2 separate regions of the Homo sapiens genome follow, and region 2 is linked to region 1. The links are contacts of gene promoters, found by promoter capture Hi-C in blood cells and fetal thymus (Javierre and others, 2016). All regions are on one chromosome and are shown on one strand. Each heading gives the region's core, a stretch centred on a gene start or on the middle of the fragment in contact. The rest is flanking DNA. Distances are from core to core; before and after follow the strand shown.

What was found. Contacts are between HindIII fragments. The CHiCAGO score rates a contact against its expected background, and 5 or more counts as called.
Region 2: a fragment that was not itself captured here is called in contact with the fragment with the promoter of PFDN5 in region 1 in 1 of 17 cell types (erythroblasts); the score reaches 5.5 in erythroblasts.

Annotation. Positions count from the first base shown.
Region 1 is chr12:53,291,323-53,296,932 of GRCh38, reverse strand. It overlaps PFDN5 (prefoldin subunit 5), which reads right to left and starts at 1,391. Exons shown (of 6, transcript NM_002624.4): 1 at 1,294-1,391; 2 at 992-1,094; 3 at 658-689. The coding sequence starts at 1,365. It overlaps ESPL1 (extra spindle pole bodies like 1, separase), which reads right to left. Exons shown (of 31, transcript NM_012291.5): 26 at 5,073-5,243; 27 at 4,845-4,949; 28 at 4,540-4,655; 29 at 4,276-4,359; 30 at 3,963-4,127; 31 at 3,295-3,660. The coding sequence ends at 3,459. RefSeq lists enhancers at 484-1,683, 1,169-1,708. The HindIII fragment of the contact is 3,517 bases long and covers 1-1,947 here.
Region 2 is chr12:53,341,190-53,346,799 of GRCh38, reverse strand. It overlaps a transcript of SP7 not described here. Among named protein-coding and RNA genes, the nearest start is that of SP7, 7.6 kb to the right of the region's middle. RefSeq lists silencers at 1,319-1,378, 1,769-1,938. The HindIII fragment of the contact is 1,670 bases long and covers 1,653-3,322 here.

The sequences.
Region 1 (5,610 bases), core at 142-2,641:
CCCTGTTTCTATATCCTCCTATTTTTGTCTATTGCCTGTATCTTCTAAGATATTAGCAAAGTGTAAACCACCAGCTTTATCTCCATATTAATGTTCTCAAACAGCAAAGGGAAATATTACATCTCAACTATACATACTCCTTGGTGTTCACAAGACATTAGCTGGATGTTGGTGTGAAGTCAGATAAAAGAGCTACAAAGTGTGTAATAAGAGTATTCTTGGCCGGGGGCAGTGGCTCACGCCTGTAATGTAATCCTAGCACTTTGGGAGGCCGAGGCAGGCGGATCACGAGGTCAGGAGTTCGAGACTAGCCTGGCCAATATGGTGAAACCCCCAACTCTACTATTAATACAAAAATTAGCCGGTCGTGGTGGCGCGTACCTAAAGTCCCAGCTACTCGGGAGACTGAGGCAGAAGAATCTCTTGAACTCGGGAGGCGGAGGTTGCAGTAAGCCAAGATCTCACCATTGCGCTCCAGCCTGGGCGACAGAGCGAAATTCCGTCTCAAAAAAGAAAGAAAAAAAAAAAGGGTATCCTCAAAATCATTGTGAGGAGAGGGTAATCTGAAGTAATCAAAACAATCCCCCTCCCCGCTTTTTGGGGGAGTGAAGGAGAAAGGGAGAAGGCAGCAGGTAGCCGTTCCTGTGGAAAGGATACAGAACTCGTCAGTGGGACGAGTAATTCTTTCCCTGTGAAAGCAATGAAGACAAACACCTGGGGAAGGTTAGCGGCTCCAACGTAAGACGTTAAAGAGAGTTCCAACAGGGCACAGCACCCACAGACAGTGTGAAAAGAACGGAAACAGGGGCAATAGGAGCAGAGGAATGTCCTGTACTTTTCAATTCTAGGCAGGCAACATGCAAAGGGTTCATGAAGCGGTATACGATATGTAATGGATTTTCTCGTTTCAGGTAAGAAAAACTGGGTTAGGAGGTGGGACGAGAGAAGCAGGTTCGCCACTTTAGGTTACCCTCACCCGCCTACCCCATACCCTCGTTGCTCTTGTTCAGCACGTTCAGACAGTCCTTGGCTTCCACATACTTGGTCTGTACCACTTTGAGCTGAGCAATGGACGTGGACAAGAACTCCACTTCCTACAGAGGACCGGGATAGCGGGTCAATGAGAGGACTAAGGGGAGAAAGGAGCGCGGCCGGGGAGGGGGCAGGTCCTGGGATCGGATAGAGGTTTCGCCTGGGAAAGGTAGGCTGCCAACTTGGAACCGGGCGCGAGAAGTACGCGTGGGCAAGGGGGATGTAGAGCAGGAAAGAGGTGCCTCTGGGGCCCGTCCCCACCTGGTCCAGCTGGTTCTTGAGCATTTCTAGCTGCGGCAGATTCAGCTCCGTGATGTTAATAGACTGCGCCATGTTGGGAAGGCCGACTTAACGAAGAGGAAGTCTCTCGGCGAGCAACGCTCTAGCCGTCCTCTGCGCGTCTCGGTGGCGCCGGGAGGCCTCGCTGCGCCAGACAGCTCTATGATCCTCCGTCCCGGAAGGGAAGGAGGGGCTTGAGCCTCTCAGAGACTGTTGTGTGAGTTCATTTCATAAAATGTCTTAAGCCTAGTATTGTAAAGTAGCAGCAAACAGGACTCCTGCCTACAAGGAACTGCAAAATCTTAAAGTTCTCACGACACAACCACGATATTACAAAGTAGTGTATGCTACTCCACGTGGGTGGTATAAGCTACTGGAAAGCAGGCTGGATTGCCATGGCGACGGCTCGGGGGCCTGGCCCTGCTCCTCTCCACCCCGCTTGCTATTGCTGCCTGCTGGTACCCCGCCAGGCCCGATTTCAAATGTTCCTCCCAGCACGGCATGGAAATGGCAGGGAAATTCTAAACTCTTTTTCCCAGATGGCCTCTGAGGCCGAAAGGCAGGAAAAAAAAAAAAATCCCTTGTCAGACCGTTCTGAATTGTCCTTGGAAAAAAACAGGCATTAGATTGAAAGCTTGTCGAAGGCAGGAACCAACCATGTTCTCATCACTGAACCAATTCTTCCCCTCTCGCTATAACCATCTTCCCCCAGCCGGAAGTAGGCTGACACGTAGTAGGATCTGAAAAAGGGTTTATCACCCGTTGCCAGTGAGGTGGTGGGAGAACAGCAAGGAAGCGCCATTGTCAACCAAGTACAGCACAAATTAATCAATAAAATATTTTGGCCGGGCATGGTGGCTCACGCCTGCAATCCCAGCACTTTGGGAGGCCGAGAAGGACAGATTGCTTGAGCCCAGGAGTTTGAGACCAGCTTGGGCAACACGGCGACACCCCGTCTCCACAAAAAATACAAAAATTAGCCGGGCTGGTGGCACACGCCTGTAGTCCCAGCTACATGGGAGGCTGAGGTGGGAGGATCGCTTGAGCTGGAGAGTTGAGGCTGCAGTAGGCTGTGATTGTGCACACTAGCAACAGAGCTAGACTCTGTCTCAAAAAAAAAAAGGTTTTACCATGTGCTGTATGTGAGGGATACGTGAGAGTGTAAGATACTTGCTTCCCTTGAGCTTAACAATTGGAGAGAAAAACCACACTAGAACTCCACAGATCCACAGACTCTACTGCTAAAGTTACACATTGGTAAGTGTAACAGGTGTACATGGGCAGACAGCAGTAGCCTTTAACATCTACTTAGGAGGCAGGCAGGGCAACTGAGGCATTAAAACTAGTGCCATGGCTGGGCGCGGTGGCTCACGCCTGTAATCCCAGCACTTTGGGAGGCTGAGGAGGGTGGATCACAAGGTCAGGAGTTCGAGACCAGCCTGGCCAATATGGTGAAACCCTGTCTCTACTAAAAATGCAAAAATTAGTGGGACGTGGCGGCATGTGCCTGTAGTTCCAGCTACTCAGGAGGCTGAGGCAGGAGAATCGCTTGAACCCAGCAGGCAGAGGTTGCAGTGAGCCGAGATTGCGCCACTGCACTCCAGCATGGGCAACAGAGCAAGACTCTGTCTCAAAAAAAAACAAAAACAAAAAACAAAACACTAGTGCCACTCCAAAGATACCTGCGGCAGGAAGACAGGACGGACGGATGGTACCTGGCCAAAACACTCTCAAAGGGTCTATCACTACCCTTCCTTGGGCCTGTCTCTACTTAGCATTTTGATGCCCCTTTCTCCTCCAGATTTGTCTGCTGAGGCCCAGCCAGGCCCAGCAGGCTTTGTCCTGTGTCTTTGCCTTTCTTCCCCAAGCACTCAAACTTGATCTGCTGTAACCTGTTCCTGTCAGCTTACAGTACCACATAGTAGGAAGGGGGCAGTCATGCCGTGTCTTTAAATGTTCTCAGATAAACTACGCAAAACAGGGTTTAAATGATGTATCTTTATTATACTGAGGTTAAATCAAAAGGAAATGTTTCATATAAAACACTGGGGAAAATCACTTTAAAAGAGTTATCCTAAGGATTAAATCTAACCTTGGAGGTAGAACAGTTATGAGGCTTCTAGCATCAATAAGACAGCTCCATGGGGTTACCGCAGAGAGACAGGCAAGCCATAGGCTATAGGTGCAGCCCCAATAAGATACTTGAGTCGGGGAGCTTGGCGGGCCTGGTTTACATAGTAGAGAAGGGGGGCCCCTGGGCCTGCTCCAAGCCAGCCTTGCAGCAGAGCTTCCGTGTAGCGGTCAATGTCGCGGTCAGTCACATCCCAGAGATTACCCAGAAACAAGGGGCTGGGAAAAGAAAAGGAGGAAATACAAAGTAAGGGCTCTAAAACAGAATACATAGGAAAACACCATTGGTGGTGGGGGTGGGTGAGTGGAGAGGATTGAACCAATGAGAAACTCCTTTGGCCCTTGGTTACAAGAGAAGAACAGAAGGGAGCTAAGGGTTAATGGTCCAGGCATGCCAGGGAACTAACTAGGATAGGAGGAAAATGGGGCACAAGAGAGGCAAGATTCAGACCTGGGAAAGAACCTGGGGTGAGGGCAGGAGTCCTAATGCCCTAGGATGGGTCTTGCCCTTGGAGACTCACCAACCAGCCATGATGTACTTGAGCACGATGCCAGCCCCCTCCAGGTTTCCACGCACAGCCAGGGCCGCACTGCTACAGCCAAACAGCAGGGCCACTGCCCGACAGCTCAGCCGCAGGACAGCCTGCCCATCAAGGAAGCGGGCACCAGCCCCATGCCCTGCATAGCTAAGGCAGAAGGAGGTGAGATGAGTCTTGAGCTAGTAATACCTGGCCTCTGCCTGTGTCTTCAGAGGCTCTCAAGTCCCAAAGCAACCCATGGTGATACCATCCTCAGGACTGCCCCTCTCCCCACATCCCTGCCTTAAGCACTCACATATACAAATCATGCTTTGTCAGGGCTTCCTGCACCTGTTCAGGTCTTGGCACCTCCCCAACCACTCCTCTCCAGCCAGCTTCACTGCAGGGAAAAGGCAGGTGTGAGAATAGGGAAATGCATGGCAGGGGTCAGGTGGCAAAGACAGCAGAGGGATCATTAGATAGAAGGTGGGCTGCAACAGCTGTTTCTGGAGAAAAGGCTTGTTGCCCCTGTATGTTGTCTACCCTTCCCCACACGTCTTCTTGTCTTCGCGCCCCTGACCTGCTGAAATTGGCTCGAAATTGCTCCTCTGTGCTTGACAGGTTATTGTGAGGGTTCAGGACATAGAAGGTACTTCGTGGATCCACCCCTTGACTCAGCACTGGCGAGGCCCCATACTGAGGAGGAGACACTGGCGATTAGGATGCTTGTCTCACCAAGAGGCCCAAGCTCTAACAATCTCAGCCCCTTTCCATGTCTGAGCCATTCCTAGGACCCTCTCCTATCTTCTCAGGTTTCTCTGCCCTTCTTTGTTGACGTCTTCCCCAGTCGCCAGTCATCCCCAGACACTACGCCCTGAACCCCACCTCTTTGATGATGGAGTAGCTGAGTAGGAAGCGGAAGGAGGGCAGCCGGGTGACAGGCAGTGCTTGGAGGCTGGGCATGCTTTCCCACGGCAGCTTCTGCAAGTCCTGGGCAAAAAGCACTAAGAGGTTACTGTCCCCAGCCAGGTATATGCAGAAGTCAGAAGGGGCATGGGGATGAGTTGGTATTCACTCCCCACTAGACACTGCCCCTCTGCCCCAGCTCCTTACCTTGTCTAGGACCAAGACAAGGTGGCTATTGCTTGGTACTGTCAGGCCCTGTAGACGTCCTACTGCCTCATTCAGGAGCTCCTGGGCTCGCTCTGGCTGGGTTGGGCACAGCCCGTAGGCCAGGGCCTGAATGTCCTGAGGGGTGAGGGCACCGGCACCACTGAGCATGATCTGCAGGGAAACAGTGGTGGTGAGCACCATCTTCATTCATGATAGCTGCTGGGAAAGGATTAAGTCCAGTTTCTTCCCTTTCCCTGTTTTCTTTTTTTTTTGACAGAGTCTTGCTCTGTCGCCCAGGCTGGAGTGCAGTGGCGCAATCTCAGCTCACTGCAACCTCCACCTCCCAGGTTCAAGCGATTCTCCTGCCTCAGCCTCCTGAGTAGCTCGGACTACAGGCATGTGCCACCAAGCCCAGCTAATTTTTGTATTTTTAGTAGAGATGGGGTTTCACCCTGTTGGCCAGGATGGTCTTCACCTCTTGACCTTGTGACCCACCTGCCTCGGCCTCCCAAAGTGCTGGGATTATAGGCGTAAGCCA
Region 2 (5,610 bases), core at 1,238-3,737, 49 kb before region 1:
TGAGATAGAAGAGATCAGGAGGAGCAGTGCTGGGGCAGTATGTCACCAGTAAGGCCACAAAATCCCCAGGGTTACTCTCTGTCTCCAGGAGTTACTCTGGTGTTCTCCTTCCTCCTCTAGGCTCCCAGAGCTCCCTGCAGCTGCACACATTCTTCCCCTTTCTTTGTCCCTTGGCTGCCATGAGCGAGCCCACTAGACATCATATGCATCTTCTCCAAGAATCTGGAAGCAACTAGAAAGTGCTCTGAAGGTAGCACTTGAGAAGAAGCTCCCACAGCCTTCCTCTACCCCAGTTCCCAGGATCCTGGAGAGATGATGGGTTAGGCAGGCCTGAGTGCCATCTAGAATTGGAATGGGATGGTTGGTGGGTGTTGTCTGGCAGGGCACATTAGATGTCTCTGTCTGTCTCCTCTGTTAATTGAGGTCCTTCTGCTATCCTGTGCCAATGTTCTTGGATTCCTAAGGTCTCCTTATCTGGCAAGAAAGGCCTTAGGGTCCTTTAGAGGGCCAGGTAGAGAGAGAGGGTGATCATCTACGGGTGTGTTAACTTCTTCTAAGACCTGGCCTCTGTGGTTCATGTGTCCCCATGAATGCCCATGGTGTGACTATGACATGTGGTGTGTGCCTGTGTCAGCCTCTGTGTGTCAGGGCAGGGGCTCCTGTGGTGTGCCTATGTGTTGGGAGGGGGTGATGGTGAGAGCCTGGCTCCCTCTCCTCCTCCCCCATCCCTTCTCCCATCTGGCCTTGATCAGCCGGTCCCTAGGGAGGGAGCCGCGGTTTCGGATACAGGAAAATGTTCCAGGAAGCGGCCACTGTGCTGGGCCCTGCTCTGGCTCCCCCAGCGGAAATTGTTCCAGGAGGGAGGGAGGAAGGGAGTGTTGAGATAGGATTAAGGGAGGAGTGGGTTGGTTCTTGGCTCCCCTTTCCACAGGATAAAGCTGGATAAGTTGATGGGAAGCTCAGGTCAGCCAGGAACCTGGATGCTGCCACTGAAATCACTGAATGCAGGAAAATGGGCCAGCAAAAGAGGGTCCCCTTGCCTATCTGCTTCTCTTTTTAATGAAGTTTCAGTATTGGGACGAGGGTGGCCCCTGAGGGTCCCTCTTCTGGCCCTGCTATCATGTACACAAGCTGGAGACCAGAGCACCTGGGTCTTGTCTGAAAGTGGTGTGGCTTGGTGGGGAGGTAGGGGGCATACGATTCAGCTCCCTTTTCTCCCAACTGAGGGGGCTTTGAAGCTTGGATCCAGGACTGGGAGGGCTGCCTAATTGGGATAATGGAGGTTAATGGGGCGCCTGGAGGGGGTTGCCACGCTCCTAGATCAAAGGGGCCAGCTCTTCCCAGCCACCACAGCTGGAGGTCACAGCTGGAGGGGGAGGGGGAGGGGCTTCGGGCCAGCCAGCAGGGGGTGCTCCGGCCCTGGAAAGCCCGTCCTCTGAGTCTCTGATTCTCTTCTTCGCTTGGAACGGCTTTTGCTTAGAGAGTGCATTGGGGAGCGGAGGATAAGAGAATGGGGGAGCTCTGAGATCCCTACTCCTCTCTGTGTGGGGTGATGGGGAAGAGAAAGGGCATGAGAGACTGGCAGGCTGGGGGCCAACGGGATGTTGGCACCGTCGGGACCTCGGGCACTGCAAGATCCGGAGGAAGAAGCTTGGATGCAGCCTCGAGAAAGCTACGGCGGAAGAGGCAGGACTCCGGTCCTGGGTTCGGGCGGCTGAGAAAGGACTGGGCCGGGCAGCGGGGGGCGCTGGCTGGGCGGAGGCGAAGGGGCATCCGGAGTTCCCCCGCCGCCGCCCCCTCCCCCGGGCTGGCGCTCCCTCTCGGGCTCTAATCGGCGCGGCGGCCGCAGCGGGCAGAGTCAGCGCCGCCAGTCTCCGGGACGCGACTCCCAGCAATTGTGGTCGGGACCGCAGATATGCAGCTGCCTCCTGCCCGGGCGCCTGGCCCGGCCGGCCCCGCCCGCGCCCCGCCCCCTGCCGCCCGCCCCTCGGCCGCGCCGGGACACTGAGGCACGGGATGGAGGCGAGATCCCCGGCGGCCCTGAGCCTGGCCTAGGCCGCAAGAGACCTCCCAGCAGCCCCGGAGCTCACGACCTGTCCTGTCCTTCTGAGGGTGCCTATCTCCCCCACAGCTGTGGCTGGGGGCTAAGACCCCCCAAATCCTGCCTCAGCTTCAACCGTCCTTCTTGCCTCACACGTCCACGCGAGGTGGGGGTGGATGGGGGCATTGAACAGCGCTTTGAAATCCAGAGGGGGGCGTCCCATTGAGGCTATGTGGGGAGGAGGTGTTAATGTTGGTAGCTGAGTCCCAAGGACCTTCATTAACTGAGGCGGTGGAAAGTGGGCCTAGGTAGGCTTATAACTTACAGCGGGTTCCTATGTAGGGGAGGTGATGGAAGGTGGGGAGAGGGAGAAATGGGTGAAAAGGGGGAAAGGAAATAGTTCAGGAGGGATTGGGGCAGAGGGCAGAGGCGGGGGTTCTTCTGGGAGACTGAGGGCCAGGTCCTCAGATACTGCCCTGGCCCTTCACTGTTGGCCGGATCCAGCAACTGTCAAGAGCCATTCTCAGAACTGAATAGATACCTCTAAAATGCCTGCATATCCTGTGTGCAAGTGCACACATCAACACACAGATCAAGGGAAGTCATGTGTGACTACTCACCCCTCACATCTGATTGGACACCAAATCCTCTCCACCTCACATCCTCAATATCACCCCTTCATTGACTTATTTTTTTATTTTTTTTTTTCTTGAGACAGAGTCTGGCTCTGTCGCCCAGGCTGCAGAGCAGTGGCACAATCTCAGCTCACTGCAACCTCCGCCTCCCAGGCTCAAGAGATTCTCATGTCTCAGCCTCCCAAGTAGCTGGGATTACAGGCATGTGCCAAAAATTGGCACAGCCAATTTTTGTATTTTTAGTAGAGAAGGGGTTTCACCATGTTGGCCAGGCTGGTCTCAAACTCCTGGGCTCAAGTGATCTGCCCGCCTTGGCCTTTCAAAGTGCTGGTATGTGCCACCGTGCTGGCCCCCTCCACTGACTTCTGCTCATCCTCTCTGCTACTGCAGGCCACACCTTCCCACATCTTGCTTGGACTGCTGCAACAGATTGTTTCCTTGCCTCCGATTTTGCCCTTCTCCCAACTGTGACAATACTGCTAGGCACCATTTATGGAGCAACTACTAAGTGCCAGACACTGTGCTAAGAACTCAACACTTTTTATTGCTAATCCTTGTAACAACCCTGGGAGGTTACCATATTAAGTTGCCCCTTTCAACAGGAGAGGAATCTTAGGCCTCAAAGGTTAAATAGCTCACCCAAGCTTGCACCATTGTAAATGCCTGATTTACCCAGAACCGCCTGGCTCTAAGCCCTTATTTCATTCTCCTCTCTGAAGTCAGTCATTTCTCTAATATACGAGTATTCTCATATATTGCCTTTGGATCAAGTCTAGGCCCCTTGCATAGCTGATTAGAACTTCTCCATCAGCCTCCACTCTGTGTTGCACTCACACTCAATTTTCAGCATCTCAAAAGTTGTTAATCCCTCATACCTCTGAGCCTTTGCATATACTCTTCCCCCTTCCTACAACACTCTTCCTTTTTTTTTTCTTTTAGACAAGGTCTCATTCTGTCACCCAGACTATGTTTTTTTTTTTTTGTATTTTTTGTAGAGATGGGGTTTCGTCATGTTGCCCAGGCTGGTCTCAAACTCCTAGACTCAAGTGATCCACCCACCTCAGCCTCCCAAAGTGCTGGGATTACAGGCATGAGCCACTGCACTGGCACCACTCTTCCTTTTTTTACTTGATAACTCTTATTTGTCCTTCAGTTTCTTTACTTAGTCATGCTGTCTTCCAGGAAGCCTTCCTTAATTCCCCCCCAACACTGGCTTAGATTTACTCTTTTGTCTCCTATAACATCCAGTACTTATTTTTTATTTTATTTTATTTTTATTATTTATTATTTATTTATTTATTTATTTTTTGAGACGGAGTCTCTCTGTGTCACCTAGGCTGGGATGCAGTGGCACAATCTTGGCTCACTGCAACCCCCGCCTCCCAGGTTCAAGCAATTCTCTGCCTCAGCCTCCCAAGTAGCTGGGATTACAGGCATCTGCCACCACATCTGGCTAATTTTTTTGTATTTTTAGTAGAGATGGGGTTTCACCATCTTGGCCAGGCTAGTCTCGAACTCCTGACCTTATGATCTACCCACCTTGGCCTCCTACAGTGTTGGAATTACAGGCGTGAGCCACCACGCCTGGCCCTCCAGTACTTATTCTATCGAGATACTTCCTACTCTTTTGTATTAGTTGCTGGTTAGTTTGTGAGGTGAAGGGATGAGTCTGTCTTGCTTGTTATTGCATGCCTAAGTCTAGCCCAGTGTGCTTAGCACAAAGTAGGTGCTTTCTGAACATTTGTTGAATGAAAGAATGTTCTTTAAGTTCATTCCACATTTCAAAAATCTGGGCTCCGAGGAAGAATGCAGCAGGCCAGAGAAAGCGGGGAGACGTGTGTATTTAGGAATTTTTTTTTTTTTAAATGGAGTCTCGCTTGTCTTCCAGGCTGGAGTGCAGTGGCACAATCTCGGCTCACTGCAATCTCTGCCTTCTGGGTTCAAGTGATTCTCCTACCTCAGCCTCCAGAGTAGCTGGGATTACAGGCACGCGCCACCACACCCAGCTAATTTTTGTATTTTTAGTAGAGACAGGGTTTGTTTGTTTGTTTTTTGTTTTTTTTTTTGAGACGGAGTCTCGCTCTGTCGCCCAGGCTGGGGTGCAGTGGCGCGATCTCGGCTCACTGCAAGCTCCACCTCCCGGTCACGCCATTCTTCTGCCTCAGCCTACCAAGTAGCTGGGACTACAGGCGCCCGCCACCACGCCCGGCTAATTTTTTGTATTTTTAGTAGAGACAGGGTTTCACCATGTTAGCCAGGATGGTCTCGATCTCCTGACCTCGTGATCCGCCCTCCTCAGCCTCTCAAAGTGCTGGGATTACAGGCATGAGCCACCTCGGCCAGCCTGAGACAGGGTTTTGCCATGTTGGCCACGCTAGTCTCAAACTTCTGACCTCAGGTGATCCACCCACCTCGGCCTCCCAAAGTGCTGGGATTACAGGTGTGAGCCACCTCACCAGGCCTGTATTTAGGATTTTGAAGGACCATTCCCTTGAGTTGCTCAGCCTCACTCCTAGGGATGATGTGATCAGAACTCCATCACCCCAACTTCTTCTTATGAAAGACACTAGTATATTTCATGGATCAGATTCTAGGGTATCGTTTTTACAAAGGGTCATTTTCTAGAGATGACCAGGTTCTTACTTAATTCAATGTTGTCCCATTTTAGACACGGGCATCCAGGACAGGTCCCCTTGTTTCAGAATCAGACCCCAGTCTTCCTCTTCCTTTCATTTTTCACTTTGTCCCCTGCCATCCAGATTCCTTCCTGCTCCTTCCATGGCACTTCTGTTTCTGATTCTGATCTGCCTCTCCTAAAGCTGCTGAATTATATCAGGGCTCAATGTCAATGAAGGAACCCAAGGCTCAGGGAAGAGGGGAGCCAGAGTCAGTCCCAGAGGTCCTGCCTTGCAGCCCTGGTGCTGGAAGAGGGGA